Regions from separate parts of the Homo sapiens genome. Here region 2 is linked to region 1. Evidence: promoter capture Hi-C in human tissues and cell types (Jung and others, 2019). All regions are on one chromosome and are shown on one strand. Each heading gives the region's core, a stretch centred on a gene start or on the middle of the fragment in contact. The rest is flanking DNA. Distances are from core to core; before and after follow the strand shown. Region 1 holds the start of MOK (MOK protein kinase). Region 2 overlaps MARK3 (microtubule affinity regulating kinase 3).

Region 1 (5,011 bases), core at 870-3,369:
CCATGTTGGTTGGCCAGCTGGTCTCGAATTCCTGACCTCAGTTGGTCCATCCTCCTCGGCCTCCCAAAGTGCTGGGATTATAGGTGTGAGCCACCACGCCTGGCTTGTTTTGTATTTTATTTATGTATTTGCTTTTTTAGACGGAGTCTCACTCTGTCGCCCAGGCTGGAGTGCAGTGGCGCAATCTCGGCTCACTGCAACCTCCGCCTCCCGGGTTCAAGCAATTCTCTGCCTCAGCCTCCCGAGTAGCTGGGATTACAGGTGCCTGCCACCACACCCGGCTCATTTTTCTATTTTCAGTAGAGATGGGGTTTCACCATCTTGGCCAGGCTAGTCTTGAACTCCTGACCTGGGGATCCACCCGCCTTGGCCTCCCAAAGTGCTGGGATTACAGGCATCAGCCACTGTGCCCAGCCGTTTTGTATTTTTTTAGTAGAGACGGGGTTTCCCCCATGTTGGCCAGGCTGGTCTCGAACTCCTGGACTCAAGTGATCTGCCTGCCTCGGCCGCCCAACGTGCTGGGATTGCAGGTGTGAGCCACCGCGACCGGCCGCTTTCTCTTTCTTTCGAGACAAGGTCTTGCTTTGTCACCCAGGCTAGAGTGCAGTGGTGCTATCATAGCTCACTGAGCCTAGAACTCCTGGTCTCAAGATACCTCCGCCTTATTCTCCTGAATAGCTGGGTTTACAGGCATGTGCCACCGTGCCCGGCTTTTTTTTTTTTTTTTTTTTTTTTTTGAGTCTCTTGCTCTGTCGCCCAGGCTGCAGTGCAGGTGGTGCAATCTCGGCTCACTGCAAGCTCCGCCTCCAGGGTTCACGCCATTCTCCTGCCTCAGCCCCCGGAGTAGCTGGAACTATAGCGCCCGCCACTACGCCCGGCTAATTTTTTTTGTATTTTTAGTAGAGATGGGGTTTCACCGTGTTAGCCAGGATGGTCTCGATTTCCTGACCTCGTGATCTGCCCGCCTTGGCCTCCCAAAGTGCTGGGATTACAGGCGTGAGCCACCACGCCCGGAGTTTTTTTTTTTTTTTTTTTAAGAGGGAAGTGGGGTTTCTCTATGTTGCCCAGGCTGGTCTTGAATTTCTGGCCTCAAGCGATCCTCTTGCCTCGGCCTTCCAAAGTGCTGGGATTACAGGTGTGAGCCACCACACCTGGCCAATTCAGTCTTAAACCAATTTTCTGAGGCTTCGTTTTGGCAAGGCTACTTATCTGTTTTAAAAATAAACGATGTATTTTAGTAAAAGAAAAAAAATGGAGGAAAAAACAGGGTTTTGATCTCATGGAATAATTATGAGGCTAATCTAATGAGCTTCATAAAATACTATACCCATACATAGTATGCTTGTTATTTTATTGTTTTGTCAGGGTCCAGAGAACTAGGCCACTGTGTTGCTTAGGCACCGTGTCTGCACATAGTTCATTCCGGTGTACATTCATTCATCTTTACACTAGAATGTTAGTTTCAAGAACTCAGTCACCTCGTCTACACTGTCCTTTAATCCCCAATACCTGCGACAGTTCCTGGGGCAAAAACAAATGCTTGTTGAATTAAAAAGAAAAACTGGGCCGGGCGTGGTGGCTCACGCCTGTAATCCCAGCACTTCGGGAGGCCGAGGCAGGCGGATCACCTGAGGTCAGGAGTTCGAGACCAGCCTAACATGGTGAAACCCCGTCTCTACTAAAAATACAAAAACATTAGCCGGGTGTAGTGGTGGGTGCCTGTAATCCCAGCTACTTGGGAGGCTGAGGCAGGAGAATCGCTTGAAGCCGGGAGGCGGAGGTTGCAGTGAGCCGAGATCACGCCATTGCACCCCAACCTGGGTAACAGAGCGACACTCTGTCTCAAAAAAAAAAAAAAATTCCTGTAGAAGCTCCCAAGCCCAATTAAAGCTCAAGGCTATCGTCCACGTAGTGGGTTCCAAATCGCTAAGTTCCCAGGCCAGCAGGGAGAGCGAGCCGAGCGAAGGTCGCCTGTGTCAAAGGCGGGGATTTGCACAGTATTTACATGGAAGCGGAGGAAAGGCTGCTTAGCAACCGGGCTGAGGGGACGGGCTGCACTGCGCACGCGTACATGGGCGGGGCATCTTGCGCATGCGCAGGCGACAGCTCATGGCGTTCAGGGCCTGACGGTTGCTAGGGTGACAGGGACACAACATGGCGGCGGGATCTCTAACGCTCTCCTTCGAGGGACCACCACGGAGATCCTAGTGCGGGACCCCGCCTCAGGGAAGTGGAAAGCAGGGGGACAACCTTCCTGCTTCTTTCTTTTCCGTCCAGTGTCGGCAAGGGGTTGTCACCGGCTTCCGCATCCAAGATGAAGAGTGAGTGGGGCCGGGGAAAGGGGCAGGGACTGGAGAGCGAGTGGCGGGGGAGGGAGGGACTGGGGGAGCTTGAGGAGCTTGAGGGGCCTGTGGGGCCGGGCGTCGTCGCCTTCTGCCGTGGCTCGACAGGCCCGGGAGGCTCCGCATGTGGGCCCCGAATCCCCCTCGGCTGTGAGAAGCCGGTGCCCCTGGGGGAAGCTTGAGGGGTTGGGGCTAGGTTGGGAACTTTGGGGTCTCGGAGAGCCGACTCGAGTTCCCGCTCAGGCATATTTTGGTGCAGGTGCGTGGTTCTTACATTGGAGTTTAGGGAGTTGACTGTGATTCATTTTATTTTATTTTAAATGCTGGCTTGAACCTGACACTCTTTTCCTGAACATTCGGCAGAAAACGGGGGAGCGCTTACAGCGTGGCTCCCTGCCTTTTCATGATACTGGTTTAGTGACCAATTGAGAGGAAAGCTGGGCTGTGTGCTTTATTTTATTTTTTGGGTCAAGCAGTAGTGTTTTATAGGAACCACTTTTTAATAGTAGTTTTGAAGCAACCTTTTAGTTAAAAGCTGTTACTTCAAAGTTGGGAAATGAGGTAGTCATTCTAGAAAATGTAACGGGTAAAAAATTTTCTTTAGTGGGATTTGTGGATTATTGACAATCCAAGTGCAACCAGCTAGAATGATGTTTTTAAAATTATTATTACTGTACAGATATAATTGTTTATGGTTGTGAACCAGAGGTGCAGTAAAAATTCAGACCTTTGCTGTGAAAATATTATGTTAGGAGTAGTTATAATGTTAAATTTGCATTGTATCCTAATTGTCAATGGTGTACATTGCATAACATTTAAAATAATTAATCTCATTCACCCTTTACAAGGCATTTTTATTTTTATTTTATTTTGTTGGATATTGTTTAATGTTTACCTTTTTCATTAATGCACTACAAAGCTGTAGTTAGAATCCAAGGTCTACAAAAGACTTTACACTTTTACTTACAGTGCAGACTATGATACTGCACATATTTTGTACTATATTCATTTTTTTCTTCCCATCTGTTTGTTTTGAAAATTTTCAGATGTACAGGAAAGTTGCAAGAGCAGTACATTGAATATTTATAAACCCGTCCTTCACTTAGCTGCACCATTTTGCCTTATTTTTGTGTGCTCGCTTTCGCTCTGGTGTTTTCTCTCTCCCATTTATGTATTTATTTTCACTGGACCTTTCAAGAGTTAGTTGTAGACTACTAATAATTCACCACTTCTTTCAGCAGTTATCTGCCAAGAACAAGGACATTCTCCTACATCATCACAGTACAAATAACACATTTAGAAAATTTAACAATGATACAATACTCTGATACACAGTCCATATTTCAGTTTTTCCATTTATCCCAATAACATGTGTTATAGTTGTTTATATTTTTTCTATCCAATCAAGAATCACCAATTGTATTCTGTTGTCATATCTCTTTGGTCTCTTTTAATATGGTGTCCCTGCCTTTTGTGTCTTTCATGACAATGATATTTTCATTTTTATTTGGCTGTCCTCTGTAGGCCAAATGACATTTTTAAAGAATCCAGCCCAGTGTTTTGCAGAATATCGCTCAATTTGGATTTGTCTGATTTTCGCCTCATGATTAGCTTCAGCTTAAATGTTTTTACCAGGAATATGTGAGAGGCAACGTTGTGTCTCTGTCAGTGTGGCCCTTCCAGAGTGCCTGATGTCAGTTCGTTGCAGTTTTGCTGAAGTTAGATTTGATCATTTGGTTTATTTATCTACCTTCTTTTTCTCTTAGACTCTTTTTTTTTTTGGACAGGGTCTCTCTGTGTCACCCTGGCTGGAGTGCAGTGGTGCAATCTTGGCTCACTGCAACCTCTGCCTCCCGGGTTCAAGTGATTCTCCTACCTCAGCCTCCCAAGTAGCTGAGATTACAGGTGTGCACCACCACGCCCAGCTAACTTGTATTTTTTGGTAGAGACGGGGTTTCAACATGTTGGCCAGGCTGGTCTCAAACTCCTGACGTCAAGCGATCCACCCGCCTCAGCCTCCCAAAGTGTTGGAATTACAGACGCGAGCCACTGTGCCTGGCCTTCCTCTTAGACTCTTCATACCCCACTACCTAGAGGCATCACTTTCAGTAATTTACTCTCTCTATATATATTATATATAAATATATAAATGTGTATTTCTCCCTTTTTAAAAGACTAATGTTAGCACTGCATGTGTATACCTATATAGAAATATGTACATATGCTGCCTGGGCGCAGTGGCTCACACCTGTAATGCCAACACTTTGGGAGGCCGAGGCGGGCAGATCACGAGTTCAGGAGATCAATACCATCCCAGCTAACACGGTGAAACCCCGGCTCTACTAAAAATACAAAAAATTAGCCAGGCGTGGTGGTGGGCACCTGTAGTCCCAGCTACTCGGGAGGCTGAGGCAGGAGAATGGCGTGGACCTGGGAGGCAGAGCTTGCAGTGAGCTGAGATCGGGCCACTGTACTGCAGCCTGGGCAACAAAGCAAGAGACTCCGTCTCAAAAAAAAAGAAAATAAATATGTATATATGCGTATATATATATAAAATTTACATTTGTGGGCCGGGTGCAGTGGCTCACGCCTGTAATCCCAGCACTTTGAGAGGCTGAGGTGGGTGGATCACTTGAGGTCAGGAGTTCGAGACCAGCCTGGTCAACATG
Region 2 (5,011 bases), core at 1,849-4,348, 1.1 Mb before region 1:
GAAAATGACTTAACACATATAAGAAAGATTAATCCTAAGCCAGCTATGGAGATATTGGAAAATCCTGATTTGTATTATAGAACTCTCAAAAGGTTCAGGAACTGGTAGTACAAGTACCTCTAGAAGTGTGAGTGAAGTAAGCCTGAAACAAGAAGATCTATCAGTCTGTTAAATAACAGACCCCCGGGTCTCCTCTCCCACTCAGGCAAAAAACTGGAGGTTCTTTAGAAAGGGCAAAATGGAAAGTCTCTGGGCTTGGGGACACAGGGCACAACTGAGGGCAGGGACACTGAAAACAAGCAGAGAAAGCAGAAAGCCACAGATCTTTCCTTCTGCCCTCTCCCGACTCAGCTCCCTGGAACATGGGCATTCCGTGCTTGCCTAGGCCAAGTGATAAGACTAAATATATTGGTATCAAGAGCACCACAAAGAAATAACAGTGTGTCCCACTGTTGTATTCAAGATCCATCCAAATGCACAAAACTTCCAATCAGCCTTAAACAAACAGAAAAATAAGCAAGACTCAAAATAGCATTCTCTCTCTCCAAATCGGAGTGTCAGATGCTATATAAGACAGAAAACAAAATTCTGAGGAAAAAGGGCATTCAGTCTAGAATTCTATATGCAGCCAAAATATCAATCAAGTATGAGAACAGAATAAAGATGTTTGCAGATATGAAAGGATTTTAAAAATTTACCTCTGAGCAACTTTCTCAGAAAATCACTGGAGGAACTGCTGCAATGAAACCTGGGAGTGAACCAAGGGGAAGAAAATGGATCGAACAGGAAAGGCAAAGGGAATCCCTAGGATATGGGTGAAGGGAGATCTCAGGATGACAACTATGCAGCAGAACAGACAGACAGAACACAAGGCCAGCCTGACAGAGATGAAAGTGACTGAATGCCTGATGAATCTGGCCACAGAGGAAATTGAGAAAGTGAAGTCATAAAAATCTAAGTAAACAAACAAAAAAACCAAGACACAACTTGAATGATGTTATTCTCTTTTGATTTAAAAAAAAAAAAACCATGAGGCACAGCCGAGTGAATTTGTCCACAGTTAAATCTCAAGACTAGTTTCAAATTCCAGTCTATAACTCTAAATTCTAATTTCTCCTTTTATATGTTGTTCCTTCTTTTTTGCTCCATCTTATGAGGTCCATTCTACCTCTTCAGAATCTTTATCTCGATCAGTCTTAGACTCTCATTTTTGTCTTCCACTTTCAAGCCCAGACTCTTTCCATCACACATCCCTTCAGGAAAGTAGTGTAAGATTGTGGCCAGGCGCTGTGGCTCATGCCTATAATCCTAGCACTTTGGGAGGCCGAGGCAGGTGGATCACTTGAGGTCAGGAGTTCAAGACCAGCCTGGCCATGGTGAAACCCCGTTTCTACTAAAAATACAAAAATTAGCCAGGCGTGGTGGCGGGTGCCTGTAATCCCAGCTACTCGGGAGGCTGAGGCAGGACAATCACTTGAACCCAGGAGGCAGAGGTTGCAGTGAGCCAAGATCATGCCACTGCACTCCAGCCTGGGCAACAGAGCAAGACTCCATCACAAAAAAAGAAAAAAGACTAGAGTTATGTAAAATTCTATGAACAAAACCTGTGAATTCAACTTCTCTGATTTTATATTAAATTCTACCAATACAGATTTTTGTGTCAAATGTCCATACACAAACCCCACAATATTTAGGTCCAACAAAAAGCAAATGCCTGTCAACAAGAAATACAGAAAAAACACCTGCTTTGTTTGAGCTTCAACACTGAACTTCAAGGTCCCACATAACCCACAGAAACAATGTCTTATCTAGTGCACACAGAAGTACACAAGACCAACCATAGTTGAGCAGCTTGAGTGGCTAGAGTGTAGTGCTAGCGAACTCTCGGCTGAAGACAAAATTGGATGCCCCTCCCACCTCCAAAAAAAGGCCTTTTCTTTCAAAGCCAACTTCTGCCCTTCCAATTGTTCTGTACAAGCAGGTGCAGACGGGTGAGTACAAATTCCTTATTACTTTTGCAGACCAACTCCAAGCACAACCTTTAACTTCTTGTGTGAGACAGGACATTAAAGCTTCCCAGGTAAGAGATTTATTTTCTCCTTCATGTTTAATTTGAAATTTGAAAATGGATATGAGACAAATGAATTTTCTGCTTTAGTCCTCCCAGTGGTGATCAGAGGGTACTGCATTCCCTGACTCCTTTTTCTTTTTTAACCAAAGCCACAAGTCACGGAATATTCCCTGACTCTTACTAGGAATTTGTTCCAGCCCAGGAAAAAATTCCAGGCATAAAATTTGGCTATATCTTAGAATAATAAAATGCAGGCCGAGCGCAGTGGCTCAAGCCTGTAATCCCAGCACTTTGGGAGGCCAAGGCAGGCGGATAACCCAAGGTGAGGAGTTTGAGACCAGCCTGGCTAACATGGTGAAACCCCATCCCTACTAAAAATACAAAAAATTAGCTGGGCATGGTGGTGTGTGCCTGTAACCCCAGCTACTTAGGCTGGCAGGCGGAGGTTGCAGTGAGCCAAGGTCACGAGATTGCACTCCAGCCTGGCAACAAGAGTGAAACTCTGTCTCAAAAAAAAAAAAAAAGTAATAAAATGCAGAACAATCCTCTTTGCAATCAAATAGTTAATATTAATTTTTATTAGACTGTATAAGCCTCTATGTAATTACAATGTAAATCATGCACCATGTAAGTCTAAATAGTTATACAATGTATATATCATGAGCTACATAACTTAAATGACCAAAATTCTATTTACTGCAAATTTCAACCTTTACCTCATTTACATACATAAGATAAGGATGCTCAAATTGAAGTCTATAAGATCTTTCCCTGAAAACTGACTAAATATTTTCATGAATTCTTCAGAGATCAACTTTTTTTTTTCTTTCTTAAGATACATAGTTTCACCATGTTGTCCAGGTCGACTGGAACTCCTGGCCTCAAGTGATCCTCTGGCCTTAGCCTCCTGAGTAGCTGAAACTATAGGCCAACTTTTTTCTGATAAGGCCCAAACAGCTTGATTCAACAGGTTGTGCTTAGAAGTTGACAAGCTGATTAAGCCGGGGCACAGTGGCTCACGCCTGTAATTCCAGCACTTTGGGAGGCCGAGGAGGGAAGTGGGAGGATCATGAGGTCAGGAGTTCCAGATCAGCCTGCCAACATGGTGAAACCCAGTCTCTACCGAAAATACAAAAAAATCAGCTGGGCATGGTAACAGGCACCTGTAATCCCAGCTACTCGGGAGGCTGAGGCAGAATTGCTTGAAGCCAGGAGGCGGAGGTTGCAGTGAGCCAAGATCATGCCACTGCACTCCAGCCCGGGCAACAAGAGTGAAACTCTGTCTCAAAAAATAAAATAAAATTTAAAAATTAGCTGGGTGTGGTGGCGGCTGCCTGTAATCCTAGCTACCTGGGAGGCTGAGGCAGGAGAATCGCTTGAACCCGGGAGGCGGAGGTTGCAGCGAGCGAGATCGTGCCACTGCACTCCAGCCCAGGTAACAGTGTGAGACTCCGCCTCAGGAAATTTAAAAAAAAAAAAAGCTAATTAAATAAAACCATATTACATATTTTAAATGAGATACTCTACAAAGTATTGCTGGCTGGTATACAGTTAAGTGATCACCAAATGGCAACTATTGTTATTTTCCAGAACCACAATTTTTAATAAACAGTTTTTTTTAAACTCATGGAACCTGAAAACTCAATTAAATGGTCTGGAAATCTTCCTTTGATAGTCACAGTACAATCTAAAAGGAGTATAGTTTAGTTAGCAAGCCTTCACTGCACACTAAGGCAGTGATTTTTTTTTCTTAATAAATAAACATCAGAAATTCCTGCTATAGTGATTCTTAAGAGTGGTCCCCGGACCTGGAGCATCAACATCACCTGGCAACTTGTTAGAAATTCCAATTCTACGGGTAAAATCAAGGTCTAGGGGTAGGGCCCAGTGATCACGGTTCTAAAGCCCTTCAGGTGATTCTAATGTTTGCTTAAGTTTGAGAGTTACAGACTAGTTTCATAAAGCTCAGGCTGCTTTGTCCTGCAAGGAGCAGGAAATCCTAAAGAGCAGGAAAGCTATGTGTCCCAGGTATATGGCCTCTACAGCACCTAGCACAGTATCATACACACGGTAGGCATTCACACTTGCTGAATAGGTTAATTCAGTCTCACATAACCGATGACTGACTAGACAACAGCATCATCAGTTTCACAGAGGTCAGAAATTTGGGGGACTATTTGCATTAACTAATAATAAGTACATGATGCACACATATCAGTAACTGTTAAATAACTGGGAAAGCCCTGGGCCTCTGGTACTTTGGCCAATAACATTACCAGGCTTACGAAGTGTCATATCCTTTGAAATTCAGGTGAAAAATATGTTTCTCATTTTGCCAGTATAGAAAAAGGATGTATCCGTGGCTCCATATAACTATAGAACATAAACTGAAATGCAAACTGTTTGGTTGCCTTTAAAAAGCATATTTTGACCAGGTACAGTGGCTCACGCCTGTAATCCCAGCACTTTGGGAGGCCAAGGCGGGCGGATCACCTGAGGTCAGGAGTTTGAGAACAGCCTGGCCAACATGGCGAAACCCCATCTCTACTAAAAAAAAAAAAAAAAAAAAAAAAAAAATAGCCAGGCATGGTGGCGGGAGCCTGTAATCCCAGCTACTCGGGAGGCTGCGCACGACAATCGCTTGAACCCGGGCGGCAGAGGTTGGCAGTGAGCCGAGATTGCACCACTGCACTCCAACCTGGGCGACAGAGCAAGACTCCATCTCAATTAAAAAAAAAAAAAAAGCATATTTGACATATCAGCCAACTATAATGTATGAATTCAAGCTGGATTCTAATTTGAACAGTTTAAAAATTAGAAATGTGAGAAAATTTAAATACTGCATATTTGATATTAAGAAAATATGATAAAAGTATTGCTTTTTTCTTAAAACAGGCTTTATCTCTTCTAAAAGCTTTAGAGAGGAAATGATACTGCATT

What was found. The method cuts DNA at HindIII sites, captures the fragments that hold promoters and counts their contacts. A contact is called where the count stands out against the background at its distance.
Region 2: a contact is called between a fragment that was not itself captured here and the fragment with the promoter of MOK in region 1, in 1 of the 25 tissues and cell types used here (spleen).

Annotation. Positions count from the first base shown.
Region 1 is chr14:102,302,272-102,307,282 of GRCh38, reverse strand. It overlaps MOK (MOK protein kinase), which reads left to right and starts at 2,119. Exons shown (of 12, transcript NM_014226.3): 1 at 2,119-2,321. The coding sequence starts at 2,315. RefSeq lists enhancers at 1,900-1,949, 1,716-2,238. The HindIII fragment of the contact is 9,726 bases long and covers 1-5,011 here.
Region 2 is chr14:103,391,347-103,396,357 of GRCh38, reverse strand. All of the region lies in intron 1 of MARK3 (microtubule affinity regulating kinase 3), which reads right to left. Among named protein-coding and RNA genes, the nearest start is that of MARK3, 8.4 kb to the right of the region's middle. The HindIII fragment of the contact is 4,446 bases long and covers 876-5,011 here.